Regions from separate parts of the Homo sapiens genome. Here all the other regions are linked to region 7. Evidence: promoter capture Hi-C in 16 types of primary human blood cells and fetal thymus (Javierre and others, 2016). All regions are on one chromosome and are shown on one strand. Each heading gives the region's core, a stretch centred on a gene start or on the middle of the fragment in contact. The rest is flanking DNA. Distances are from core to core; before and after follow the strand shown. Region 1 overlaps SPRYD7 (SPRY domain containing 7). Region 2 has its middle 13 kb from the start of SPRYD7. Region 3 overlaps DLEU2 (deleted in lymphocytic leukemia 2). Region 4 holds the start of KCNRG (potassium channel regulator). Region 5 holds the start of TRIM13 (tripartite motif containing 13). Region 6 overlaps DLEU2 (deleted in lymphocytic leukemia 2). Region 7 holds the start of DLEU7-AS1 (DLEU7 antisense RNA 1).

Region 1 (4,132 bases), core at 937-3,436, 880 kb before region 7:
AAGGATTTCAGGATTTCTGACTGTGGATACATTCTATCAAGTTAAAAGCTTTTTAGAGGTAAAAAAAAAAAATTTTATAGATCATCTTAGTCTTAAATTCTCTCTCTTTACAAGCAAGACAGCAAAAGCCCAGAGAAGCTAATGTGGTAAGTGGTATGAAAGATTCTCAATTCTTAGCAAAGCCAGGGTTAACTTAAACAATTATTAATAATTAAGGAATACTGAGAAAGATAAATAGTACATAGATTGCCTTTGCTTCGCTTTAGTTTATGTCTTTAGATAATAGTAATAAAGCTAGCTGATGGCTGGGATTCACTTTTCTAATGAAAAAGTCTGTTTTCATTTTAAAAAACAAAAACTTAATTACATAAAAAAGAAAGTATGTTACTCTCATTATGGGACTACCAGAAATCTAGCAGTTCAGATCAGTGAGGTTGTAATCCAGGCACTTTCATCCCCCAGTGGCCGATTGCAAACAAACAAGTTTGTTTTTTGTTTTTTTTTTGAGACAGAGTCTCGTTCTGTCACCCAGGCTGTAGTGCAATGGCATGATCTTGGCTCACTGCAACCTCCACTTCCCAGGTTCAGGAGATTCTCCTGCCTTAGCCTCCCCAGTAGCTGGGATTACAGGCGCCCGCCACCATGCCTGGCTAATTTTTGCATTTTTAGTAGAGATGGGGTTTCACCATGTTGGCCAGGCTGGTCTTGAACTCCTGACCTCAAATGATCTGCCCGCCTCGGTCTCCCAAAATGCGGAGATTACAGGCGTTGGCCACCGCGCCCAGCCTCAAACAAGCAAGTTTTAAACCCAAGCCTGCAGTAGCAAAATCCCAGTACCAAAGAAGTGAGGAAAGATGTGAGAAGTCCCACCCTCAGTATAGTTTAGTTCAAGTATTTTCTTTCTTTTTTTTTTTGAGACTGGGTCTCACTCTGTCGCCCAGGCTGGAGCGCAGTGGCGCGACCTTGGCTCAGTGTGATACGCCCGCCTCAGCCTCCCGAAGTGCAGGGATTACAGGCATGTGCCACTGTGATGGGCCAGTTCAAGTGTTTTCTAACCTAATCTATTCTATGATGAAGAAACTGGGTTTGATTCTGCCAAAATGATAGCAAAATATACTGTGTGTTCTATGTCTTTATTAATAATTGTGTGCAGGTTAGTGAACAGATTCTGAAATTAGACTGCTTCAGGTATGATCTTGGTTTTTGTTTTTGTTTTTGAGACAAGGTCTTTTTTTTTTTTTTTGAGGCAGAGTTTCGTTCTTGTCGCCTAGGCTGGAGTGCAATGGCGCAATCTCGGCTCACTGCAACCTCCGCCTCCCAGGTTCAAGTGATTCTCCTGCCTCAGCCTCCCGAGTAGCTGGGATTACAGGCATGCACCACTACGCCTGGCTAATTTTTTGTATTTTTTTTAGTAGAGACGGGGTTTCTCCATGTTGGTCAGGCTGGTCTCGAACTCCTGACCTCAGGTGATCTGCCCACCTCGGCCTCCCAAAGTGCTGGGATTACAGGCGTGAGCCACCGCACCCGGCCAGAGACAAGGTCTTGCTCTGTGTGGCCCAGGTTGGGTGGAGTGCAGCGGCAGGATCACGGCTCACTGCCGCCTTTATCTCCCAGGCTGAAGCAGTTCTCCCACCTCAGCCTTCCAAGTAGCTAGAACTACAGGGGCATGCCACTATGCCCGGCTAATTTTCTTTTTAAATTTTATTTATTTATTTATTTGTTTGTTTGTTTGTAGAGATGGGGTCTCACTATGTTTCCCAGGCTGGTCTCAAATTCCTGAGCTCAAGGGATCCTTCTGCCTTGGCCTCTCAAAGTGCTAGGATTACAGGCATGAGCCATAGTATCTGGCTGAGCTATATAGTCTTGTAATTAACTCACATAAGAAGTTACTTAATTTCTCTTAATCTGTAAAATGGGGATAATAATACTACTACCGTACGGGCGTGGTGGCTCACACCTGTAATCTCAGCACTTTGGGAGGCCGAGGTGGGTAGATCACTTGAGGTCAGGAGTTCCAGACCAGCCTGGCCAAAATGGTGAAACCCTGTCTCTACTAAAAACACAAAAAAATTAGCTGGGAATGGTGGCAGGCACCTGTAATTGTAGCTACTCAGGAGGCTGAGGCAGGAGAACCGCTTGAACCCGGGAGGTGAAGGTTGCAGTAAGCCGAGACTGCATCATTGCACTTCAGCCTGGGCAACAAGAGCAAAACTCCATCTCAAAAAAAAAAAATAAATAAATAATAATAATAATAATAATAATAATAATAATACCTATTTCAAAGGGCCATTATGAGCATTAAACAATTTAATCCTTGCCAGGCACTTAGAGCAGTGCCCATAATAAATGCTTAGGTCTGGGCACGGTGGCTCATGCCTGTAATCCCATCACTTTGGGAGGCCAAGGTGGGTGGATCACGAGGTCAGGAGTTCGAGACCAGCCTGTCCAATATGGTGAAACCCCGTCTCTACTAAAAAATACAAAAATTAGCCAGGCGTGGTGGCACGCACTTGTAGTCCCAGCTACTAGAGAGGCTGAGACGGGAGAATCGCTTGAATCCAGGAGGTGGAGGTTGCAGTGAGCCGAGATGGCACCACTGCAATCCAGCCTGGGCAACAGAGTGAGACTCCATCTCAATAAATAAATGCTTAGAAGTGTTTGTTATTGTTATTATTACATAGAATGTTTATAAGACTTCTCTAAAAGTAAACTGATACATGCATGTTAGAATGAAATTTGTACTTTTCAGAATTATATGTATAAGGAGAAAGTAGGCCGGGCACGGTGGCTCACGCCTGTAATCCCAGCACTTTGGGAGGCCGAGGTGGGCAGATCATGAGGTCAGGAGTTGGAGACCATCCTGGCTAACACAGTGAAAACCCGTCTCTAGTAAAAAATGAAAAAAATTAGCCAGTCGTGGTGGCGGGCGCCTGTAGTCCCAGCTACTCAGGAGGCTGAGGCAGGAGTATGGCGTGAACCCAGGAGGTGTAGCTTGCAGTGAGCCAAGATAGCGCCACTGCACTCCAGCCTGGGTGACAGAGCGAGTGGCCATCTGAAAACAAAAAAAAAAAAAAGGAGAAAGTGAGCATAAACTGTTTCATGTATGTCTTTCTAGTTCTGTAGCAGGCCGTGCTGTACTGGGTGATTATCATATGAATATAATCATATAATCATTTGGTTAGATGTTCACAGCTTATTTTTCTTGATTTCTCCTCAGAGAATGGTACATGACTTAAATTCTAAACACATGAGAATGCTTTTCCTGTCTTATAATCCATTCTACTTATTGCATGCCACTGTTAACAATTTGGTAAAATTTGTTCTCCAGTGTTTGAACTAGTTAAAATAGCAGGGTAATGTTTTTCTTTTCTTGGCTCTGCATGTATTTCATAGTTTTAGTTCTCCTTTTATGAGAATGAGCTCATATGAAAACTCGAAGTCTAATTTAACAACACTGACAGACTAAAAGTGGCATTCTTCAGTCTGTCACACTGTGCTATCAGACATTACAATGAATGAAATGAGATAGGAAGGCAGGTAGAAGTTTCAGTTCATCAACAAAGAAAAACATTTGTTACTGATTATCCTTTCTTATGTTTGAATTTCATCTTTTAGGGTAAACAGGTTGACAGCATCAACTTGACTTCAAGATTCTCTTTCAAGAAATTACCATTTGAATAAGGATGTTCCATATTATGGGCATCTGGCAATGATCTACAAATACAGAACCAACTATTCAAAAAGCATGGGAAAAAGCAGATTTTTTTAATGGCTTATGCCTTTCATCTCCTTTTTTTCTTTAGTCAATTCTGGAAAAAAAACTTCCAACAATTAAAAACTTACAGTTGTTCATATTTTTTAAATTGCAAAAAAGAGAAGAAAGATCAGGCCGTAATTAAAAATCTTAATTTCCACACCTTTCTTCATTCTTTCTAAAATACTGTACCTTTTCATAATTAATTAACCTGGATTTCTCTTATCTTTTCATCTTATTAGAATCCTTCTCTCATTATTCATAGATTCCTTTCAACTTGATATCAGAATTGAGAACCCAAGGTTCAGTGTACAAGGGCACCTCGGCTGAAGGAGACTCTAGGACTCTGTTCTAAATCAATGGCCTGACCTCTGGATA
Region 2 (4,219 bases), core at 1,022-3,521, 860 kb before region 7:
GTCCTGCCTTTCTGGACCGAACCAGTGTATATCTTAAATGTATTTGATTGATGTCTCATGTCTCCCTAAAATATATAAAACCAAGCTGTGCCCTGATCACTTGGGCACGTATCATCAGGACCTCCTGAGGCTGTGTGATGGGTGCGTCCTTAACTTGGCAATTTTGAGACGGAGTCTCGCTCTGTTGCCCAGACTGGAGTGCAATGGCATGATCTCGGCTCACTGCAACCTCTGCCTCCTGGGTTCAAGCGATTCTCCTGCCTCAGCCTCCTGAGTAGCTGGGACTACAGGCATGCACCACCACACCTGACCAATTTTTGTATTTTTAGTAGAGACGGGGTTTTGCCATGTTGGCCAGGTTGGTCTCCAACTCCTGACCTCAAGTGATCTGCCCACCTTGGCCTCCCAAAGTCCTGGGATTACAGGTGTAAGTTGCCATGCCTGGCCTGCAAAATAAACTTTCTAAAATGACAGAGTCCTAGCCAGAGCAATCAGACAAGAGAAAGAAATAAAGGGCATCCAAATTGGTAAAGAGGAAGTCAAACTATCACTGTTTGCTGATGATCGTATGCCTAGAAAACCCTAAAGACTCATCCAAAGAGCTCCTTCAGCAAAGTTTCAGGATACAAAATTAATGTACACAAATCAGTAGCTATACACCAACAGCGACCAAGCTGAGAATCAAATCAAGAACTCAACCCCTTTTATAATAGCTGCAAAAAAATCACATACCTAAGAATATACTTAACCAAAGAGGTGAAAGACCTCTACAAGGAAAACTACAAAACACTGCTGAAAGAAATCATGGATGACACAAACAAATGGAAACACATCCCATGCTCATGGATGTGTGGAATATTGGGAAAATGACCATAGTGCCAAAAGCAATCTACAAATTCAATGCAATTCCCATTAATACCACCATCCTTCTTCACAGAACTAGAAAAAACAATCCTAAAATTTGTATGGAACCAAAAAAGAGCCTGCATAGGCAAAGCAAGACTAAGCAAAAAGAACAAATCTGGAGGCATCACATTACCTGATTTCAAACTATACTATAAGGCCATAGTCACCAAAAACAGCATGGTACTGGTATAAAAACAGGCACATAGGCCAGGTGTGATGGCTCACACCTGTAATCCCAGCACTTTGGGAGGCCGAGGTGGGCAGATCACCTAGGTCAGGAGTTCGAGAACAGTCTGGCCAACATGGAGAAACCCCATCTCTACTAAAAATATAAAAAATTAGCCAGGCATGGTGGCACGTGCCTATAATCTCAGCTACTCAGGAGGCTGAGACAGGAGAATTGCTTGAACCCAGCAGGCGGTGGTTGCAGTAAGCCAAGATCACACCATTGCACTCCAGCCGGGGCAACAGAGCAAGACTCCGTCTGAAAAAAAAAAAAACAGGCACATAGACCAATGGAACAGAATAGAGAACCCAGAAACAAAGCCAAATATTTATAGCCAACTGACCTTTGGCAAAGCAAACAAAAACATAAAGTGGGGAAAGGACACCGTATTGAACAAATGATGCTGGGATAATTGGCAAGCCACATGTAGAAGAATGAAACTAGATCCTCATCTCTCACCTTATACAAAAGTCAACTCAAGATAGATGAAAGACTTAAATCTAAGACCTGAAACCATAAAAATTCTAGAAGAGAATATCAGAAAAACCCTTGTAGACATTGACTTAGGCAAAGACTTCATGACCAAGAACCCAAAAGCAAATGCAACAAAAACAAAGATAAATAGATGGAACTTAATTAAACTAAAAAGCTTCTGTAGAACAAAAATAATTAGAAGAATAAATGGACAACCCACAGAATGGGAGATAATTTTCACAATCTATACATCCAACAAAGGACTAATATCCAGAATCTACAAGGAACTCAAACAAATCAGCAAGAAAATAAACAAACAGTCCCATCAAAAAGATGGATGTGGTGAAAAGGGAACACTTTCACACTGTTGGTGGGAATGTAAACTAGTACAGCCACTGTGGAAAACAGTGTGGAGATTCCTTACAGAACTAAAAGTGGATCTACCATTTGATCCAGCAATTCCACTACTAGGCATCTACCCAGAGGAAAAGAAGTCATTACAAGAAAAAGACACTTGCACATGCCTGTTTATAGCAGCACAATTCACAATTGCAAAAATATGGAACCAGCCCAAATGCCCATCGATCAACAACTGGATAAAGAAAATGTATATATATGCACCATAGAATACTACTCGGCCATAAAAAGGAATGAAATAATGGCATTTATAGCAACCTGGATGGAATTGGAGACCATTATTCTAAGTGAAATAACTCAGGACTGGAAAACCAAACATTGTATGTTTTCACTCATAGGTGGGAGCTAAGCTATGAGAATGCAAAGACATAAAAAATGATAAAATGGACTTCAGGGACTCAGGGGAAAGGGTGGGAGAGGGGTGAGGGATAAAAGGCTACACATTGGGTACAGTGTACAATGCTCAGGTGATGGGTGAAATTTAAAAATCTTGAAGAAAAGGTTATTTTAAAATAATGTAAATTTGCTAATTAATTCCATGATAATATCCTTCACTTTAATGAGATTATTCTCATTTTCTGGCACTTACAAAAGAGCTCATTCAACTTTTCAATATATTGAAAAGATATGTCATATAATTTTACAATATTTTAACTTCAGTGTTTAATTTTTCATTGAACCAAAAAATTCTACAATAATGTCAAATAGTGAACAAAGTCTTAAAATAACTTCCTTTGACAAGCTTAGAGAAGCCAAATTTCAAATTATTTTTCATTATCATTGCACAGTTTTGAAATCTATTATCTATTGCTCATAGATTTTTTTTTTTTCTTATTTAAAAATTGGGGTAAGGCCGGGTGCGGTGGCTCATGCCTGTAATCCCAGCACTTTGGGAGGCCGAGGCGGGTAGATCACCAGGTCAGATTGAGACCATCCTGACCAACATGGTGTAACCCTGTCTCTACTAAAATATAAAAAATAAGCTGGGAGTAGTTGCAGGCATCTGGAATCCCAGCTACTCAGGAGGCTGAGGCAGGGGAATCACTTGAACCAGGGAGGTGGAGATTGCAGTGAGCCAAGATCGTGCCACTGCACTCCAGCCTGGCAACAGAGTAAGACTCTGTCTTAAAAAAAAAATCGGGGTAAAAAATATAATTATTCACACCTGTTAGGCAGAATAATGACCCCCAAAGATCTCCACATCTTAAACCACAGAACCTGTGAATATATGGCAAAAGGGACTTTGCAGAAATGATTAAGTCAAGGATCTTGAGATGGAGAGATTATCTCAGATTATTCCTGGTGAGCCCAATATAATCAATCACAAGGGTCCTTATAAGAGGGAGGTAGGATGATCAGATATGTAATGATGGAAGCAGGGGTTGGAGTGTTGTGGAACAAGGAATGTGGACAGCCTCTAGAACAAGCTTGTCCAACCTGTGGCCCACAGACTGCATGTGGCCCAGGATGGCTTTGAATGTGGCCCAACACAAATTTGCAAATTTGTAAACTTTCCTAAAACATTATGAGATTTTTTTTTTTTTTTTTTGAGATGGAGTTTCACTCTTGTTGCCCAGGATGGAGTGCAATGGTGTGATCTTGGCTCACTGCAGCCTCTGCCTCCCAGGTTCAAACGATTCTCCTGCCTCAGCCTCCCAAGTAGCTGGGAGTACAGGCATGAGCCATCACGCCTGGCTAATTTTGTATTTTTAGTAGAGATGGGGTTTCACCATTTTGACCAGGCTGGTCTCGAACTTCTGACCTCAGGTGATCCACCCATCTTGGCTGGGCGTGATGGCTCATTCCTGTAATCCCAACACTTTGGGAGGCCAAGGTGGGTGGATCACTTGGGGTTAGGAGTTCCAGACCAGACCGGGCAACATTGTGAAACCCCGTCTCTACTAAAAATACAAAAATCAGCTGGGCATGGTGGTGCATGCCTATAGTCCCAGCTACTTGGGAGGCTGATTCAGGAGAATCGCTTGAACCTGGGAGGTGGAGGCTGCAGTGAGCTGAGATTGCGCCACTGCACTCCAGCCTGGTCGACAGAGTGAGACTCCATCTCAAAAAGAAAGTAAAGGAATAAAGAATGGCTACCCCTTAGACTGCAGCCCTGAGGGCTGCTGGCTGCCCATTTTTATAGTTATTTCTTGATTATATGTTAAACAAGGGGTGGATTATTCATGCCTCCCCTTT
Region 3 (3,897 bases), core at 1,368-3,867, 770 kb before region 7:
CTACTGTATTACATAAGACTTGATAATAAGGTATGTCTTTATTTATAAAATGTAATGATATTCAGCATATACTTTATTAAGGCAAGAAAATATATTGAAATATTACCATTTTTATTAATGTTTTAGAAAATATTCAAACAAGGTTTAAAATGATTATACTCCAGAAGCTTTACAGGTGTTAAATAAAATTTTTTTAAAAACTAGGCCAGGTGCAGTGGCTGATGCCTGTAATCCCAGCACTTTGGAGGGCCGAGGCGGGCGGGTCACCTGAGGTCAGGAGTTCGAGACCAGCCTGGCCAACATGGTGAAACCCCGTCTCTATAAAAATAACAAAAAAACGGCCGGGCGCGGTGGTTCATGCCTGTAATCCCAGCACTTTGGGAGGTTGAGACGGGCAGATCACAAGGTCAGGATGGTCTCAAGGTCAGGAGATTGAGACCATCTTGGCTAACACGGTGAAACCCCGTCTCTACTAAAAATACAAAAAATTAGCCAGGTGTGGTAATGGGTGCCTGTAGTTCCAGGTACTCGGGAGGCTGAAGCAGGAGAATGGCGTGAACCCAGGAGACGGAGCTTGCAGTGAGCCAAGATCACGCCACTGCACTCCAGCCTGGGCGACAGAGCAAGACTCTGTCTCAAAAAGAAAAAAAAAAAAAAAATCAGCTGGGTGTGGTGGTGCACGCATGTAATCCCAGCTACTCAGGAAGCTGAGACATGAGAATCGCTTGGTCCAGGGAGGCGGAGGTTGCAGTAAGCTGAGATCGCGCCACTGCATTCCAGCCTGGTAACAGAGTGAGACTCTGTCTCAAAATAAGTAAATAAATAAAAATAAAATAAAAGTGATTGTAAACTTCAATTAACAGAATCATCCAGAACTCCAGATTGCCCCATTGATTCAATTAAATTTTTGTCTGATAAAACTTTTAGAAATTCTTTTTCTTTTTTTTCATTTGCATTGCCTTTCCTTTAACAACTTCCAGTGGGGGTAGTTTTCCTTTTTGTTAATCACGTCTCACACAGTCAAGGTGTCGATCTGACAAAGAGTAAGAGAAATGAAATCTAACATAGTTTCTATAAATGGTAAAGTTAAACACAATTTCCAGAACTCTAAGATGATGTTGAATTTTCCACATAAATCTATGAGATTATATTTAATTTTTCCCATCTGCTATTTTAAGTAATATGTCAGTATACTAAATATCTCTAAAATGAATATATTGAAGGCTGACTCTCTTCTAGGATTATAAAAATTTGGGACAAGACAGAGCCAAGTTCAATATCTTATTTAAAATTTAAAGGCTTAGAGAAAGACAGTAACTTAAGGTCTTTCAACTAAGCAATGACAGAGCCAATTCTCAAGTATTTGAATATGACCACAATTAACTTCTCTGGGACAGGAACAGTTTAAGCTTCTGTTTACACTGTCATTTCTCGGGCAAAGTTACCAAGCTACCTAAATACTTCTTTAGCATAATCACAAATATGAATTTTATTATAACACATTATAATCTTTTATTCTGTTTCATTTCATGGCCTTCTAAACGTGTGGGTAAGCTTTAGCTTCTTGTACATGCTCAACTGTTATCTTAATAAAATGCATCCTGATGAAACTGAAGAGACTAGCAACAGAGGCAAGTGCCTCTGAACAAAGAGACATGTTGGATGAATGAATAGCTATACACACATAATTGACCAGTTTGAGACTTTAAAAATGAGGGCAATGCAGAAAATAACTTATAGATTCTCAACATAAGAATCATCAAATTAATCTAATGAACATTTTCACTTCTAATTTATATTTTTACTTTTTGCATATTATTCTTAATTCTTGTATGAATTCTTCAATGAATTCTAAGTTATTTCTTTAGACATTCCTATGGTTAAAGCATTTTCCCCCATAACAGCAAGTAAGATAATTGAAAGATTAGAAAAAGGATTATTTAATCTAAAAAATTCACTTTACTATTTCTATGAGAACTTTTATCTTTTCAACTGAGAGAAGCTAAATACAAAAATACTGAATATGAAAAGTAAATACTTTGAAAAACAGAGAAGGCCCTAAGATTAAGATTGTTTATTGGAAATAGGATTCTTAAGATTTATCTTTTAAAACTGCCATGCTAAATAAGTCAGATTGAATCATTATTAATTCAAATAGATATCATCTACTGTGTCAGATGTTTTCATTTTGTTTTCTTTATATATGGAAGAAAACTGTTTAGCTAAAATATAGTAGATACCACAAATTGTAAAATTATACATTCTAAATGAATACATTAAAATGAAAAATAAGCAGCACAATTTTATATAAAAGATTATAATACTAGGCTGGGCACAGTGGCTCATGCCTGTAATCCCAGCACTTTGGGAGGCCGAGGCAGGTGGATCACAAGGTCAGGAGTTCGAGGCCAGCCTGGCCAACATGGCGAAACCCGTCTCTACTAAATGTACAAAAATTAGCTGGGCGCGGTGGTGTGTGTCTGTAATCCCAGCTACTTGGGAGGCTGACGCAGGAGAATTGTTTGAACCCGGGAGGCAGAGATTGCAGCGAGCCAAGATCAGGCCACTGCACTCTAGCCTGAGTGACAGAGCAAGACTGTCTAAAAAAAAAAAAAAAAAAAAAAAAGGGAATTCTCAACTACTTTTTTAAAAAGGAGTTCTCTCTATGGAAGGCCTAATTTGGAAATGTACTTGGGTCCCTATACAAAGTCGTCCAGAAGCCAGATGATTTCCCAGTGTAGTCCAAAAGCCAGATGATTTCAGGGCAAAGCATTTGAATGCTATGGATTTAGGTAGGCAAGATCCAGAAGCAGAGTACTGTGGGTCTGGGTGGGCAGGTAGAATTCAGATGCTGGGAAAAACACAAACGCAATGCTAGGAAAAAGGGTCATGCCTTACAATTCAGGTGGGACAGATACAAATGAAATAGTTTCTTAATGAGGTAGAAAGAGGAAGTTATTAATTCCTGTTCTTGTTGGATTCTAACATACAAGCTAATTTGAATTCATCAGCCTAAGCAAGGTTGCCTTGGATTTTGAAGTTTTCTTAAGGAATAAACTGTAGAGAAACCATAGGGCCAACCAGATGGATGATGAAATGGAAAAAACAGCAATTAAATACTTTTAGAAAGTATTACAAATTAATACCTTAAAAACCCTGTATCTTGAGCTAGTAGCAAAACTAACTGGAATTCCTGACCTCTGCAGTGCCTTCTTGCAACATCTCAGAAAAAACATCTGGGAATCCATTTTAGTCTGCTAAGAGACTTAAGATTTACATCAGATATATTGTCAAGGTTTCTCTTGTCCTTGTTACCAAGGAGGTAAAAGAAGTGTTGTAAAATTTATTCCTCAGCTGGCACATTATCTCAGTGAGAAATAGAGCCCTTACAAAGACTTATCTTAGACACAAAACTACATTATTGTACTTGGCAAGTACCATTTCATGCTTCTCATTTTTTTCCTCTGATCCTTTAATGAAACTGTGATGTTGATGATCTATAAATTTGATCTAATTGAGGCTAGAATTCTACTGAAAAGATAATTTCTGAGTAGCCATACCAATACTGATATCAATGTATTTTTTAATCAGAGAATTAACATATTACTGAATGTATATGAGGTTACCAGCCTATTTACTAGTCACCAAATGACCTGAGTTCAATAAGACAGCCTCTGGGCTCAAGCTTATTAGCCTTACAGGCTAATAGCAGGGAAATATAGAAGCATGTAAATCATGTGATGATTTAACATAAGCAATAATGAGACTGTTTTAAGGGTGATAGTACAGAAAAGGCAGTTATTTATTTATTTTTTTTGAGATGGACTTCCGCTCTTGTTGCCCAGGTGAAGTGCAATGGCATGGTTTCAGCTCACTGCAACCTCCGCCTCCTGGGTT
Region 4 (4,241 bases), core at 165-2,664, 790 kb before region 7:
GGCATTTTCTTGTGATAAGTTTACATTTTTAGGAGAGTGGAGCTTTCAATCTGCCCTTTTCTCCTTTGTTTTTGTAGTTTTCACCAAAGATGATCAACTAGAAATGTTAAGTGGCTATGCAAGCAAAAGCATAGATAGGTTAAAAAAAAGGATCAGCTGGCTGGGCAGGGTGGCTCATGTCTATAATCTCAGCATTCTAGGACAGTGATGTGGGAGGATTATTTGAGGCTAGGAGTTCCAGTTCGAAACCAGCTTCGTAAACATAGCAAGACCCAGTCTCTACCAAAAAAAAAAAAAAAAAAAAAAAAAAAAAAAATATATATATATATATACACACACACACACACATATGTACACATACATATATATACATATATATGTATATATAGAACACATGGCAAGAGCAGGAAATGGGAAGACTACCTTTTTTCTGGCAGCTATGTGTTGTTTTGTTCGAAAGATGGCAAGTGTACAACCAAACCAATCCACTTGCTTACAGAAAGAATGTTTAGTGTAGTTAAGACTAATTTGACAACAGATAAAACAGTCTGTCAGCTATTACAAAGTAATCAGCTGAACACTAATGCTGTTCTGTCTGCTCACAAGAGATAAAGATACCCTCTCATGGAATAAACACCTTGCTTAGAATTCATATAACAAAGAAGTAACCTTATAACTGCTCTCTAGTCTGCCTTATTTGTGTCATAGAGTAAGATATTCCTTGAAAGCCCATTAAGTGGAATAGACTTTCTGAAAATAAGAGTTCTTTACCTCAGTCCTCCTCTAATTTGGTTGAGAGGAGGTAATGAAAATGGGGACAGGATAAAAGGTGGCAACTAAATTTAAAGCACAGAAGAAATGATTTCCTTCTAGCTATGAGAATAGTCAAATTGAGCTTGCCAGGCTGTCTCATTCCTAACATGTAATTCATGATTTAGCCACTAAATTTCTAAGGAGATCATAAGAAATTAAGAAAAACGTTTAAGTCTAGCCTCTGCGTGGTAGACAGGTATGGGGAGGGAGAATGCTTTTCCCCTCCCAGTAATAAAAAAAAAAAAAAAAAAAATATATATATATATATATATATATATATATATATATATATATATATATATATATATAGTTTTACTAGGTTTTCATGGATAAGTTTTTAAATGTAAGACAGGAAAGGGATCTATTTGATGTCTATCTTCAGATATATTGGCAGTTTTCCTTAAGCTATTTAGTTCCTCATCTGTTGCTTTTTCATTTTGTATACTGCAAGTTCCCAGGCAACTCGAATTTGCAAACACAGCCATGGATACACTATTTACCTTACAGTAGTTTCCTGGGAATCTAAGTCTGGTTTTTGTTATTCTTCCCTCCCCTCCACTGCATAATCATGTATAACTAGCAACATTTATGGTTATAGGTTGATTTCCTAAGTGTGGCTGATGGTAGCCTCTAGTTTGAAGTGAGGGAAGAATGAGTAGTCAGGAACTGGTCACTTTGAATGTGGGAGGGAAGATATTCACGACAAGGTTTTCTACGATAAAGCAGTTTCCTGCTTCTCGTTTGGCACGCATGTTAGATGGCAGAGACCAAGAATTCAAGATGGTTGGTGGCCAGATTTTTGTAGACAGAGATGGTGATTTGTTTAGTTTCATCTTAGATTTTTTGAGAACTCACCAGCTTTTATTACCCACTGAATTTTCAGACTATCTTAGGCTTCAGAGAGAGGCTCTTTTCTATGAACTTCGTTCTCTAGTTGATCTCTTAAACCCATACCTGCTACAGCCAAGACCTGCTCTTGTGGAGGTACATTTCCTAAGCCGGAACACTCAAGCTTTTTTCAGGGTGTTTGGCTCTTGCAGCAAAACAATTGAGATGCTAACAGGGAGGATTACAGTGTTTACAGAACAACCTTCAGCGCCGACCTGGAATGGTAACTTTTTCCCTCCTCAGATGACCTTACTTCCACTGCCTCCACAAAGACCTTCTTACCATGACCTGGTTTTCCAGTGTGGTTCTGACAGCACTACTGATAACCAAACTGGAGTCAGGTATTTTGTACTTTGCAGTATTTCTCTTGTATACCAGTTTGTGATGTTTTCTCTAAAAACTTGAAGTTCCTCAGGCCTGTAACTTCTGGAAAAGATGATTATTCAAAATAATGTTTTGGGGTAACCAGTGGAGTTGGGTAGAATGACCAAATAATTATTTTCCAAACTGGGATACTTTTTAGAGTGAAAGGGGCTATTATTAGGTGGGACAAAAGGAATAAATGAAGACTGCCCAGAAAAAACTGAGACTATGGACATTCAAATCATGGGAGAAAATAATTTTGTAGATTATGTTCCATTGCTAATGAATTTGACTTAGAAAAGAATTGCCTTATTTTTAAGAGATTGTTTCAGTGGTTCACATAAAGGCTCGCTCACTGGTTTCTCTTGAGTTCCTTACACACTATATAAGTTGTTCTTTCAGTTTTATGATTCAACTACTGTTTTTCCTTCAGCTGACTTTATTTTTAAACACCCTTAAAGACAGATATATCTCATGGCAAATTTGGTATCCTGTTACAGCCTTGGCTCTTAAACAACTCAAAATATTGGGATAGGCTGTCAGTATGTTAAGGATAGTTGCTCCTGAGTCAATTCTTCACTTACTCCCTCTGTTGTTCTTGGCTGGATCCTAACGCTGATTTCCACTCTGCTGTCACAAACATTTTTCCCCCCGTAAAATGTCTTAATGCTGTCCTACCATTATTTTACCAACTGTGAAAGCTGGCTTTAATTTTTAGGAGGAAAAGAAAAGCCTGCATGTGTTCTTTATTGGTATCATTTAAAATATACTTTTTTTTTTTTTTTTGGTAAAGGTAGGCGTATTTTAAGATATTTTCTTAACTTGAGCAGTAGCCAACAGGAAGGATACCAGTGTCTCTCTCTCTTAGCGACACACTCCTTGGTCTTGCTTACCAACTGGAGGACACTAGGTAGAATAACCGAGTATGACAATTCTTAATTGTTTACATTTTATAACTTCCTGTCCTTCAAAAGAGTTTGAAATGTCATTTTGGGAAAAGAGAGCCAGTCAAGCTAGTAGGCTGATTGTGAAGAAAATCTAATACCTTATCTTTATCTCAAACCTCTGTACAACTTTATTTTCATTGATGGGATACTTTAACAAAAATGAAATTTTTTTTGGTTTTTAAAATATGAGTGATTATGACCTCTTTGGGGATCATGCTTCAAAAAGTCAGAAACCTAGAGACAAAACTGTCATTGATTTTTAAGAAGAAACACACTAGGTCAAAAGAAGATGTCCTGGAAATACGAAGTACTCTTTAAAAACCATGCATTTGGAGAAAGTAATTGTTTCCTTGAAAAACATGATTAAAAACTAAAACTGGGATGTTCCTGTGTGTACACAGTGCCAAATGGTTTTCCCTTTTTATGTTGTGTTTTAGAAACAGCACGAAAGTTTTTTCCATTTTAAAGTGAGAAAACATTATATTTAGACTTCCATAATTCCAAAATCAGAAGCTATTTTTAAAATTAGCATTTTCTTGCATCACCAAATGGTATTCAATTGTTTGAAGCTCAAAATTTTTACCATTCCATAAATGTTTGTGAATTTTTAGACAGTGCCAATTTAAAAGTAGAGATAGCCAATCTGAATACGGTGAAATTATGGGGATCTCTGGTGATTGGGATGAAAACTCTGGCCTTAAAAGGTCCACTTTTAGTATATAATTGCCTAATTAGCAATCATTTTTATTTTTTGCTCACTCCCTGGTCTGAATCTATCTGTCTATTCAGATATTTTTTGGTAGGTTTGGAAAATGGAGAAGTGAGCCTAATTGGTGCCTAATTGTCTGGTGTATCATTCACTTTATTCAGTTTGTTCTATCAATATGATTTACCCCTCAAGGTTAACCTAGCAGGTTGCTCAGTTATTATCTCTCAAGGTCACAGTACTAGAAATACTTGGCTTGCATCTTTCAGATGCCATTCATGTTATCAAGCTCAAATTATAGTTGGTCACAGGATTCTAAAGTCTTTATTTGACTTCTCCTTTTTGAACTGGCTCAAATGGAAAAGTGTAGTTGCTTTTAAATGTTAAAAATAAGTTTAAACTTTATATTTCCCATTGGTTTCCCCTATTTTGTCCTTTCTTTGTGTGCTTGAAATATTTTATTTTTCAGTTTGTCCTCATAGGGAATCAAGTATTTTAGCTAGGTGATGTCTTGCAAGTACGTT
Region 5 (3,894 bases), core at 1,037-3,536, 810 kb before region 7:
GAGGCAATCAGATATTCATTTATCTCAGTGAGCAGAGGGATGACTTTGAATAGAATGGGAGGCAGGTTTGCCCTAAGCAGTTCTCCGAAGCTTGACTTTTTCCTTTAGCTTAGTGATTTTGGGGCCCCAAGATTTTCCTTTCACATGAGTTAATAACTGTCCAGTCTTGTGAAATATCATTTTAATATTAGGATATCTGAAATGTTTCCATATGGCTGGGTGTGGTGGCTCACGCCTGTAATCCCAGCACTTTGGGAGGCTGAGGCCTGAGGAACACTTGAGCCCAGGAGTTTGACACCAGCCTGGGCAACATAGTGAGACTCTATCTTTACAAAAAATAAAATTAGCCAGGCGTGGTGGCGCATGTCTGTGGTCCCAGCTACTTGGGAGGCTAAGGGAGGAGGATAACTTGGGCCCAGGGGCTTGAGGCTGTAGTGAGCCATGATCATGCTACTGCACTCCAGCCTGGGGGACAGAGATAGACCCTGTCTCAAAATCAATCAACACACAATGACAACAAATAAATGAGATGTTTCTACAGATCACTTTGTTTTTTTAGAAACACTAAATTAATTAATTAATTTAGTTATTGAGACGGAGTCTTGCTCTGTTGCCCAGGCTGGAGTGCAGTGGTAGGATCTCGGCTCACTGCAACCTCCATCTCCCGGGTTCAAGCTATTCTCCTGCCTCAGCCTCTCAAGTAGCTGGGACTACAGGCATACGGCACCATGACCGGCTAATTTTTGTATTTTTAGTAGAGACCAGGTTTCACCATGTTGGTCAGTCCGGTCTGGAACTCCTGACCTCAGGTGATCTGCCCGCCTCGACCTCCCAAAGTGCTGGGATTACAGGCGTGAGCCACCGTGCCTGGCCTAAAAACACTAAATTTAGTAAGGTACTGGGGTGCAGTTTTGTCACTGACAGTTATGGTGCTGTAGAAAGAGCCCATATCTGGAAGCTGCCTTTAGCCTCAGCTCTGCCTCTTGCTTTTGTACCTTGGAAAAGTCACTTCACCTGTTTTCTCATCTATATAGGATGAAGATCATAATTTCTTTTACACAGTGTTATGAGACTGAATGACAGAAATTAAAAGAAGTGTTCTACGAAGGCAAAGTTAGGTTTCTTATAGCAGGAAGGGAGATGCACACAGAGAAGTGGGAATCTCAGGAGACGGATGTGGCCAGGGGCTTTTTACGGGGGTTGGGCTAAGCATTATTAGTCAACGGGCTGTACTGCTATTTATGGTAGGTTTTGAATACCGTTTCTCCAAAATAACCTATTTCCTCCCCAAACCCAAACTTCCTCAACTGGGATCGAACTCAATCCTACAGCGTGTTCTGAGATTCTATACTCGCCTCACTTCTCCCAAGATCGTAAATTCTGGAGGAGCCATTCCTTCATCATCCATGTTTGCATCCTTCACACCGTTCACTGGTTAAGTGCTTAGTACGTTTGCTATTGGGCAAGGTCCTCAAACGGGAGGTGGACGTCAGAATAGTCAGGTTATCGACTGAGTAACTGTTAGTGGTGGATAATTTAAAGCCAATTTGAAAGTTCATCCTTTCCCCCAAAGGCAAAAACAGGCGTTCCTTTTCTTAAAAGAGAATTTTAAATAGAATTGGGTCTCTGGTGTCCTGCCTAAAGCCCGCAAAGAAAGAGGGTACGGTTGGGGGTGGGGGTGATGGGGGATACTGAACCCTTTTCTGGTTGCGCCTTGCCCGGAGCCCCCGGCTAGAGCCCTGGCGCTCCTGGCGCGCTCCCAACGCGAATCGGTGACTCCGCAGGCCGCGCAGTGCGGAGGTGCCCGTCCCACCCTCCCCCTTGTGGGGTGCGGGGCTCCATTTCCCCAAGCCGCTGGGGTCGGCTTCTGGTCTTGAGATGCGGATGAAGTGGTGTGAAGGGTTGGGCTTTTTTTTTTGTTCCTAAAAATGCAACGAACAAAAAAAAAAGTACAACAATCCAAACCCAACCATCTTAATTGCACGGCAGCTTAACTGGGAGACTTTCTTCCCGGGCGGCCCCACCCGGGACCGCGCCGCTTCAGTCGAGCCCACCGTCTGGGCAAACGGCGTCCACTTCCCGGAGCCGCTGCCCAGCCTCTGCGGGGGGGCTTTGGGCGGGCGCAGGACTCTGGAAGGGAGAAAAGCCCGCAGCCCGGCCCTCCCCGTCCCAGGCGGCCCGCGCGGGTGGACGGCGGGAGCAGGCGGCGGTTGGAGACGCCGGAAGGAACGCGGTCTCACCACCCGGCTCCCTCCGCCAAGGCGAGGCGCGGCCGGGGAGGCGGGACACAGGCGAAGCGGGACGGGGAGGCGGGGCCGGAGGTGCAGGCGGAGGCGGGCGACGGGGAAGGGAGGGGGAGGGGGAGGGGAAAGGGAGGGGGAGGGGGAGGGGAAAGGGAGGGGGAGGGGGGAAGGGACGGGAGGGGAGGGGGAAGGGACGGGAGGGGAGGGGGAAGGGACGGGAGGGGAAGGGGAAGCGGGAGAGGGAAGGGGGCGGAGCTAGCCGGAGCCGCGAGTCCATTTTGGGGCTGTGCTTGGCGCGTACCGTGCGGTCCCTGTAGTTGGAGGACGGGCGGTCGCGCGGCCTTTCCCACTAGCCGGAGGTCGGAGATAAGTACCCGCCGCCCGGCTCCTCTCGGGAAAGCGGGGTGGTCCTCGAACCTTCAGCGAGGGTGGGGAGTTGCCCAGGTCAGCAGGGATCTGCGTGGGTTGGGGGGGCTGGCGAAGGCCGTCTGAGCTCCAGTCCGGCAGCGCGGCAGAAACCAGCGGGGCACTGTCATGGGCCTGGGGAGGAGCGGCCTGCGGAGGGCGCCGGGGCAGTGTGTCTGTGGTCCAGAAAACCTGCTCCGTCCGGAGCCTTCCTGGCCCCGCTACCAGCGTCTCCACATCCCCTAGAAAAGAAAAGACGGGTGTGGGCCTTAGGTTACAGCGCGCCGCCAGCGTTTGGTTGCATGGCGCCGGGGGAGGGCGCCCTAACCGAGAAGCTGCTTAATACAAAGAGCTCCAGGCTCCTGGCGGTTCACCAGGTCTAAACAGCCGGGCTTTATTTGTGGGGGCGATTGAAAAAATTGAGGGTCAAGATTGGGGTGCTGTGCAAATAAATGCGTTAATACTGTTCTTTTTCTTCTTTCTTTGCAGTAGCCTCTAGTTCGTTAGTCAAAACGTGAAAAAAAAGACCTGCTTTGCCCTGGGAAATAGTAACCCTGCCAAATACATCAGCTTGTAGGAGACAGAGGTAAACTACAATAATTTTCCTGTGTTATCTTTTTTTTTTAAACACCCAATTTCAATAGGCCCTAGAACCTTCCAAAATGGAACTGTGTGTAGAATACGTATGTTCCCATCCACTTTCATTGGTGGTCTTTGTTCTTTGCATATTTTGTTAAAACTTAGAAAAACAGAATTCACGTTTAGCAATTATTTATGTGGTATTTATCTTAAATATAGCCAAACATTCATATTACAAAGGAAGAAAGGGGCTTCCACACTTTTTTCCTACTTTTTTTTCCCTTCTCCTATGCTTAGTGAATTGTCAGGCTGCTAGGGCTTGTAGAACAGGGCTTGAGTTTTCTAGAGACCTTTATATAATAGGCACTTTAAAAGCAGAATTTCATTTACATAGGCACTCCTTCTAGTAGAACTTGATGGAGCTGTTAACCGGCTATACTTCCTTCTTGCACAATGGGAGCGTCCCTATCCCTCCCTAAAAATACGTTTTTTTTCCTTTCTCCCAGCTGGCTTACTAAACCTCCCTGGGAAGTCCTTTCCTAAAACCGGGCTGTTCTGTTCATTCTATACATTTATGATAGGTTATCTGGCCTTAATTCTGTCACAGCTTTTGTTCAGATATGCTCATTTTCATGACACTGCTTTGTACCTGATACCTTATGTAATA
Region 6 (4,305 bases), core at 1,280-3,779, 750 kb before region 7:
TTATCTTCGCCTTAGGGGCTGCCAAAGTAGGTTTTATACTATGCCTTCAAAAAGGGACTATTTTAAATTTAAAATTTCCTTGAGTCTATAAGTTTAGACTATTTCTACTCACATGATAGGGATATTCAGATACTAATACATGCCATCAATATGGTTTTGCTAGTTTGTTGTTTAGACATGTCCTTGTATGGCACTATGTTACTTTAGGTTTTCTGAACATTTAATTTTACTTTCAATCCAGCATCAACACAATCTGTAATGGTAATTACTTCCTCCAAATATGCCTTACTTCTATTCTGCACTTGAAGCTCTAAGGAACTGTGTATATACAGTGCCTCGGCCACAGAATGACTATCCTTGCTCAATGACAGTGGAATAATACACAGTATGTCAGTATTATACCAGACAGAAAATTTATAAATAGCTATTCTTCAATACCTTTACGTAAAGGCCTGAGTTATGGGGTCTAAAATAAATGCATGACAATTTCACTAAACATGGTAATTTTTTTTTTTTTTTTAAGACAGAGTCTTCTTTTGTCACCTAGGCTGGAGTACAGTAGCGTGATCTCAGCTCACTGCAACCTCCTTCTCCCAGGCTCAAGCTATCCTTCCACCTCAGCCTCCCAAGTAGCTGGGACTACAGGCCTGTGCCACCACGCCCAGCTAAGGTTTGTATTTTTTTTTTTTTTACAGACGTGGTTTCATCATGTTGGCCAGGTTGGTCTCAAACTCCTGGCCTCAAATGATCCTCCCGCCTTGGTGTCGCAAAGTGCTGGGATTACAGGTATGAGCCACCATGCCTGGCGAAACATGGTAATTTTTTTATTACCCTACTATGAAGTCTTATAAAGTGTCCAAATATATAACATTTACAGGAAAGATTAAAATGTGCTTTTGCTTGATTCTTGTTTCTGGAATATAAATACTTAAAAACAAAAAGGCTCTATTAACTAGAGAAGATAGCTTTAAAATTCAGTGTTAGGAATACGCATTCAATAAAATAATAATCAGATTTAATCCAACATGACTGTTTTATAATATAAAAAACCTAGTTGTTGAGTTTAGGCAAATATAAAGTTTTACTGTTTCTAAACTGCCTTGATTTCTTCTGATGAAAAAATGACTGAAAGATTGCTTAAAAACTGTGTATGAAGTAGATTTCAATCTGGAAAATTTATTCCAGAAAGTCAGACTATATATATAAGCCCCCCAAATGTTATTTTAATATTAGATTCTCTTATAATCATTTCCTTATACAAAAAGTTAAACTTCTTAGAAATCAAACATTCATATTTTATTTGATGACTTTACTTCCTAAATACTAAGTATGACTAAATTACAAATATATCATGTTAGTCAAGAAATGCAATATAAAAAGGTTTGATAAATATGCTATTTACATTTTTTCTTACATTCTTCTTTTGCTCCCTTTTATGTCCTAATCATTCATACTTGCCCATTGTTATTCTTTCTTAACACTCAATTTTCATCTTGTGTCAATCATCCCTTGTATTCAGCTAGTCAATAAAATGAATTGATTCTTTAAGACCTCAGTTCATTGATTTCTTCGCCATTCTTGATTTCATACCTTAAATCTGGATTTAAGTACCTTATAAATCCAATTGCATTTTAGCTGGACCTCCTAGTCCTTAATCAATTAATAAATCTTCCCAAAGTTACATATTCAAGAATGTATCTAGGCTGGACGAGGTAGCTCATGCCTGTAATCCCAGCACTTTTGGAGGCTGAGGTCGGAGGATTGCTTGAGCCCAGGAATTTGAGAGACCAGCCTGGGCACCATAGCAACACCCCATCTCTACAAAAAAAAATTATTATTATTATTTTTTAACTTTTATTTTAAGTTCAGTGGTACAACTGCAGGTTTGTTATGTAGGTAAACTTTTATCATGGGAGTTTTTTTTTTTGTTTGCTTTTTTTTTTTTGAGACAGAGTTGCACTCTGTTGCCCAGGCTGGGGTGCTGTGGCTCAATCTCGGCTCTCTGTGACCTCCACCTCCCAGGTTCAAGTGATTCTCCTGCCTCAGCCTCCCGAGTAGCTGGGATTACAGGCCAGCGCCACCAAGTCGGGCTAACTTTTTTGTATTTTTAGTAGAGATGGGGTTTTGCCATGTTGGCCAGGCTGGTCTTAAACTCCTGACCTCAAGTGATACACCCACCTCAGCCTCCCAAAGTGCTGGGACTACAGGCGTGAGCCACCATGCCAGGCCTGTCATGGGAGTTTGTTGCACAGATTATTTCGTTACCCAGGTATTAAGCCTAGTACCCATTAGTTATTTTTCTTGGTCCTCTCCATCCTCCCACCCTCTATCCTCCAAAAGGCCACAGTGTGCGTTGTTCCCCTCTATGTGTCCATGTGCTCTCATCATTTAGCCACCCCCACACAAAAAATTTAAAAATCAGCTGGGCATCTGTAATACCAGCTACTCAGGAGCTGAAGTGGGAGGAATCACTTGAGCCCAGGAGTTTGATGCAGCACTGAGCCATAATCATGCCACTGCACTGAACTCCACTCCAGCCCAGGTGACAGAGCAAAACCTTGTTTCAAAAAAAAAAAAAAAAAAAGTAATTTCTAGTTTCCTAAGTAGAATCTCTACTTTCTGCCTAAGTATCAAGGTCTGTATAATTAAGATCTATCCAATGTTTCCTGCTTTTCTCCAAAGAAAACACTTCCATTCCAGTTAAATGGTCTCTTTTAAGACATTAACAACCACTAAGAACCTTTGAATACAGAAAATTATTCTCATTATTAGGTACTGTGTTGGGCAGATAACTGGTTCCCTATTCCATACTTATCTCTCCATTCAAAATGGACTAGCTGTGAGGAAATCTTTACTAGTATAGACCATGCCATTTCTTCAATCCTTTATCTTAGTCCACTGGAAATATCATCATGACTCCATCCCTTAAATCTCTGCTTTTACGTTTGCTGGCTGAAAGAAAAGCCACTTTGCCTAACCAGATACAGAAAGAGCCCTAATGGCTAGATGTAGAGCCAAAGAAAAGAGCTTCTAAAAAAAAAAATACAAAAATATTCTGAAGACAGAATCATTCAGTCCTTATCCTTTACACAACAACCATAGTTCCAAGTCTGGTGGTTTATATTCTGGGCTGTGGGCCTTTGATATACCAGAACTCTCCATTCTTATAATCTTCCAACAAAAAAAAAGTAGTTATATTGAAAGGTGAGACAAAATAAGTAAATTAAATGTCTTGCTTAATAATTCAACTTGAATATAATAAATCTGAGTAGATGGGAATCTTTAAATCTCTTAAGTTGGTTTTCTATGTTAGAATTTAATATATTTTAAGAAATATGGAAAAAATAAATTGTATATAAGTTAATGTTTTTTCCTTGTTAATGATTTACAGCTCTAATTTTATTTCCAATAACATTTTTTAGACATTTTCTTACATGTGCTCTATTATCAGTTCATCTGTAGTTTACATAAAGTTGTTATTGCATTTAACAAAATCATTTAGAAATTCTTTTTATTTATTTATTTCTGTCCTTACAATCTGTTCTCATTGAAATTCTAGTCATGTCTCCTAAACTACAGAATCATCCTCAGTACAATAAATCTACTGGTCAATTTCTACATTTTAAACTTACTATCAGTAAAATAAACAGCAGAAATTTATACAAGCACATCTAGTAGTGAACAGGTGTTCAACAAATGCCTACTGAATCTAAATTTACAGGATTTGAAATTCTAACACACTTAAGTGTTTCAGTGAACTGCAGCTCAACATGACCCGATAGTATTGATGAAAAAAAAAGCTAGTGCAATCAGACTGCACTATAGAACTTTATTCATAGATGCAGTGTGTTTTGTACCTATACTACATTAAGTATATTGCAATTAATTCTAAATACAATTATTTAAAAAGGAATACTAACAAAATGTAACAGATCCAAAGTAGGGTATCCAGAAAATATTGGTCTAGAAATTAATATGGTCTAGAAAAAATATGGTCTAGAAATTAATGCTATATGGCAACAGTGGAAGGACCTCAGAATGTACAGCTTAGAGAAAAGACATAAAAACAATTTTTAGACAGTAGATCTAGGGCCAGAGAACAAAGTTATAAACAGATCTTCAAATGATGTTTCATTCAACATTGTTTCATTTTTAATACTGAAGAGGAAAAATATAGAGATTTCTGTCTGGGGCCACAGTGTGTGGAGTTTCCACGTTCTCCCCATGTCTGCATGGGTTTTCTCCCACATCCCAAAGATGTGCATGTTATGTTAGTTAGCACATCTAAATTGTCTCAGTATGGCT
Region 7 (3,854 bases), core at 1,256-3,755:
ATAGATTTCCTAATATTGAACCATCCTTGCATTCTAGAATAAATATAATTGCTCATGGTGTGTTAGTTTTTTAATGTGTAATTGGATTTTGTTTAATAATGCTTTATATTCATAATTTTTGTGTAATAATCCTAACAGTTATTGTTTTATTATTTTGATTTTCTTCTTCAAGAACACCAATTATGCATATGTTTGATTTTTTTATATATTTTGCATCTATCATATAACCCTTTTAAATATCTTTTTTATTTATTCTTTTTACTCATTTTTTTCTAATTCCGTCTTCCACATGTCTAGCTATGCTTTCAGCAATGCCCTGTCTTCTTTGTGCAGTTTCCTACCACTTCTCATTCAGCTTTATCGCCTTTCCTTTTTCTAGAAACCTCACCACTTTGAGGCCCAGGGAAGCACTCAGTCAAGCTGACACACCCTTATTGCTAGAGAACAAATATCAGCAAACTATAGCCCATTGGCTAGCTTTCTTTTTTGGGAAGTAAAGTTTTATTGGAATATAGATATGCCCATTTGTTTATTGTACATGGTTGCTTCAGCACTACAGTGGCAGAATTTGATAGTTATGGCAGAGACCATATGGCCCAGAAATTCTAAAATATTTACTATTTGGTTGTATAAGAAGTGGTTTGCTGCCCTCTATTGTAAAAACCTCCATTTACATTTCAGTATGTATCACTTAGAATTGTGCTTTTATGACTTTCTTGAAGCTCAGAATCCACAGGCATCTTCACTCTGGTACTTCCTATGTCCTATGCCACTAAGTCTTCTCTCTCTCTCATTTAAAAATCTCTGTTGTTTCCTAGTTTTACAAAGGATAAGCTTTGCATTACTGTTTTTCTTGATTCCCTTGATGTTTTGGTTGGTTTTTCTGAGATATGAATAAGAAAATACTCACTTAGCTCTGCATGTTAAAATTGGAAGTCCTCAGATAATATTCCAAGAAATTATTTTTTATTTTCATCTTTGGTTGGTTGTTTTTTGACCATTGGATAGAGATCTTAGCATACTAAATGTCTTTATCCTGAATATATAGAGATTTTCTCTCCTTAATTTAATGATTTTATGACTTCTGCAATTCTTTTAGTGATTATTTAGTTCTCAATGAAGAACATAAACACAACTTTTTAAAAAACATGTATTAGTAAGGAAAAATTTGTTTTATATTTTCTATTGCCCTAAATTCTGACTCATATTAGACAGCTCGGAGTAATATTTAATACTTGAAACTTCACAAGTAATTACAAATAAATAAATGCTATAAATATTAAAAAATAGGAGCAATCTCAACTTTATCCTCACATTTTTCTGCTAAGACTTATTTAGTTACATATTGGGCTTATTTTAAAATTTAACCAAAATTATTTGATCTTTAATTATGTTTTTACCTAGAAATGTATATTTAAAAATAAAGTGTAATTCCAGTTGTATTTATACTATTCAGAATTTCAGAAGTCTGTAATCCCAGCTACTCGGGAGGCTGAGGCAGGAGAATTGCTTGAGCCTGGGAAGTGGAGGTTGCAATGAGCAGAGATCGCACCATTGCACTCCAGCCTGGGTGACAGAGCTAGACTCACTGCACTCTAGCCTGGGTGACAGAGCTAGACTCCCTCTCAAAAAAAAAAAAAAAAAAAAAAGTCGGTCTGCTCCTCTGCCTTTTTTTTTCCTACTTTTAAGAGTAGTCTGCCTCCGCAAACTTTAGTAAAGAAGTACTAAAATTAAGTGTGTTAAATGGTGTTAAGATATATATAAAAATTAATTTTTAAAGAGAGTTTAGATTGTTATCTTTAAATTTTTTTATACATTTCATAAAACATAAGTATTTCCTAATCATTAATAGGTTTTAATGAGCTTTAGTAGATGAGCAGAAATATCAGAGATATAAAATGATACTATACCGGCTTCCTTAAGAAGCTTTCTATTATTTCTTAGAATCCTGCTTTATTCTCTTTCTTGAATTCATACATGGCATTTAAAAATCTCTTAAAGATGGTCATCAAAAACAAACAAATTTTTTAAAAGATGGTATTTGACATCTCCCCTCCCTCCTCCTGCTTCTCTCAAGCACCAGTTTCCAGGTACCACTGCCTATAAAGCCTTTTCCAAACACAAATTTAATCTTTGAGTGTTGAGGTTTTTTTGGTGTTTTTTTTTTTAAGGTAATGTATTATCCTATGCAATGATATTGAGCTTTTGACTGAGAAATTGTGAAATCAAAAGTAAAGTATAGGAATTCCTTAATGGACATTTCAAGAACTTTGAAAGGCTATTGTAAGGGGAAGAAAGAGGGAAAATCTGTTTCAGTAGGAGACCTTCTCACCTCTTTACTCATAAGCCAGCCCGGGCATCATATGACTTCATCAGACTGCAACTTACTGTTCTCCCCTTTGTGGGGAGTGTCAAATGCTATAATAGAGTTCTCCAGTCTGAGGTCAGCGAAAGCTTCTCAAAGGAGATGATGCCTGGCTAAAGGGACTTTCTTTCTGAGAAAGGGATCAGCATGTGCAAAGATGAAGAGGCATAAGGACTGACCAGTGGGTCACGGCAATGAGACATTTACTGCTGACCTCCAAGAGAAGACTTCCATTGAATGAGAGGAAGATCTACACTACTAATGATCAAACTGTGAGTGTTTTAGCTTTGTAGACTTATCAGGAACTTGGGAGATCAAGAAGACAGGATCAAACAGCAAATGGAGCTTTATCAGAAATGAAGAAAAGCATTTCTCCACAGTCCTAAGCTAAACCCTTTCTGCTAGTCCCAGTTCTTATATGTGCATCAAGGCAAAAAAACATTAATCAGAACAGGAATGTTTGATTGCTCATTCAAATTTGAAATAAGCAGCTTCCATTCTTCTAACCTTCCCTGGTGGGGCCATAACATTATCAATCAATATCAAGTCTGGCATATCATTGGCTATCACTATCCAGTGAGTATCTGAGGCAGCTGAAAGAAATTGGGGCATCCATGTAAGAATATTCATTTTCTATCATTATTTACTTAAATATGTAATATATCAAGATCTGTTAGACATATTTAAGTATATATACTTATATGAGGTTGGGGGTCCCTGCAAGAAGTACCAAGTGTTTCTAGAAGAAATGTACTTGAATATAATCGCTGTATAATCACTGTGAGAACAGAGTTCCATATCTGTCCTGTACATGCTTGTCTCTAGTACCTGGAGCAGTATCTGACACAGATATGTGTTGAGTGAATGGATGAATAAATAGATAGAAGGAAGATCCTCCAACTATGAAGTTTCTTCTTTTCTTCTGCTGCTGTTGAGTAGATGAGGGTGCCAAGAAATAAGACAGCAACACCAGGAAGAAGAACAAATTTGGGGTGAGTAGGGGTGGAAAGGATGACTGATTTATAAATTGGGTTTAGGAGCCAAGAGTTATGCTCTAGCAATTGGGTATAGTAGAAGATATTTAAATAAGAAATTGCTGATATTCTTGCAAACTGAGCTTTTCTGTAAAATCATGAGTTTAGAATTCTTTATTTCAGAAGGAAAAAAAAAAACTTAGAAAGGTCAGTTGGAACAAAAAGGGAAATTAAAAAGCCACAGAGAGAAACAACTATGGTGTCCTGGGGTACATTTAAAATAAGAAGGTACTTAAGCAAAATCATTGCGTTGAGGACATTTTCTTAAATAGGATCAATTACCAGTGTCCCAGTCAATTCCACATGTCAAGAAGCTTGTCTACCTACTTGACTGACCCAGGCCTAAAAATGATAATAGCAACTTGGTGGAGTTATCTAAAGTTTGACAACCTTTCCTCACCAACCGGCAGCCCCATAGGACATATTAATCACTGCAGTTTTTACCTTGTACCAGA

The links. Contacts are between HindIII fragments. The CHiCAGO score rates a contact against its expected background, and 5 or more counts as called.
Region 1: a contact is called between a fragment that was not itself captured here and the fragment with the promoter of DLEU7-AS1 in region 7, in 2 of 17 cell types (total CD8 T cells and total B cells). The highest score is 6.0, in total CD8 T cells.
Region 2: a contact is called between a fragment that was not itself captured here and the fragment with the promoter of DLEU7-AS1 in region 7, in 7 of 17 cell types (total CD8 T cells, total CD4 T cells, activated CD4 T cells and 4 more). The highest score is 10.1, in total CD8 T cells.
Region 3: a contact is called between a fragment that was not itself captured here and the fragment with the promoter of DLEU7-AS1 in region 7, in 7 of 17 cell types (naive B cells, total B cells, neutrophils and 4 more). The highest score is 10.6, in naive B cells.
Region 4: a contact is called between the fragment with the promoter of KCNRG here and the fragment with the promoter of DLEU7-AS1 in region 7, in 12 of 17 cell types (naive B cells, total B cells, monocytes and 9 more). The highest score is 18.6, in naive B cells.
Region 5: a contact is called between a fragment that was not itself captured here and the fragment with the promoter of DLEU7-AS1 in region 7, in 10 of 17 cell types (total B cells, naive B cells, naive CD8 T cells and 7 more). The highest score is 14.0, in total B cells.
Region 6: a fragment that was not itself captured here is called in contact with the fragment with the promoter of DLEU7-AS1 in region 7 in 3 of 17 cell types (total B cells, naive B cells and monocytes); the score reaches 11.2 in total B cells.

What each region holds. Positions count from the first base shown.
Region 1 is chr13:49,922,757-49,926,888 of GRCh38, forward strand. All of the region lies in intron 3 of SPRYD7 (SPRY domain containing 7), which reads right to left. Among named protein-coding and RNA genes, the nearest start is that of SPRYD7, 12 kb to the right of the region's middle. The HindIII fragment of the contact is 4,281 bases long and covers 47-4,132 here.
Region 2 is chr13:49,947,596-49,951,814 of GRCh38, forward strand. No RefSeq gene overlaps it. Among named protein-coding and RNA genes, the nearest start is that of SPRYD7, 13 kb to the left of the region's middle. The HindIII fragment of the contact is 984 bases long and covers 1,780-2,763 here.
Region 3 is chr13:50,030,653-50,034,549 of GRCh38, forward strand. The region is part of intron 8 of DLEU2 (deleted in lymphocytic leukemia 2); the gene reads right to left. Among named protein-coding and RNA genes, the nearest start is that of MIR16-1, 16 kb to the right of the region's middle. The HindIII fragment of the contact is 2,131 bases long and covers 1,553-3,683 here.
Region 4 is chr13:50,014,030-50,018,270 of GRCh38, forward strand. KCNRG (potassium channel regulator) reads left to right here and starts at 1,415. Exons shown (of 2, transcript NM_173605.2): 1 at 1,415-2,042. The coding sequence starts at 1,465. It overlaps TRIM13 (tripartite motif containing 13), which reads left to right. Exons shown (of 2, transcript NM_213590.3): 2 at 1-4,241. All of the region lies in intron 10 of DLEU2 (deleted in lymphocytic leukemia 2), which reads right to left. The HindIII fragment of the contact is 12,687 bases long and covers 1-1,823 here.
Region 5 is chr13:49,994,530-49,998,423 of GRCh38, forward strand. TRIM13 (tripartite motif containing 13) reads left to right here and starts at 2,513. Exons shown (of 2, transcript NM_213590.3): 1 at 2,513-3,234. It overlaps DLEU2 (deleted in lymphocytic leukemia 2), which reads right to left. Exons shown (of 14, transcript NR_152566.1): 11 at 2,545-2,890. MIR3613 (microRNA 3613) reads right to left here and starts at 1,972; the gene lies at 1,886-1,972. RefSeq lists silencers at 1,480-1,529, 2,120-2,249 and an enhancer at 1,810-1,939. The HindIII fragment of the contact is 4,396 bases long and covers 89-3,894 here.
Region 6 is chr13:50,056,253-50,060,557 of GRCh38, forward strand. All of the region lies in intron 5 of DLEU2 (deleted in lymphocytic leukemia 2), which reads right to left. Among named protein-coding and RNA genes, the nearest start is that of MIR15A, 9.2 kb to the left of the region's middle. The HindIII fragment of the contact is 8,216 bases long and covers 1-4,305 here.
Region 7 is chr13:50,805,350-50,809,203 of GRCh38, forward strand. It overlaps DLEU7-AS1 (DLEU7 antisense RNA 1), which reads left to right and starts at 2,506. Exons shown (of 5, transcript NR_046551.1): 1 at 2,506-2,637; 2 at 3,191-3,357. It also overlaps a transcript of DLEU7 not described here. The HindIII fragment of the contact is 1,259 bases long and covers 2,453-3,711 here.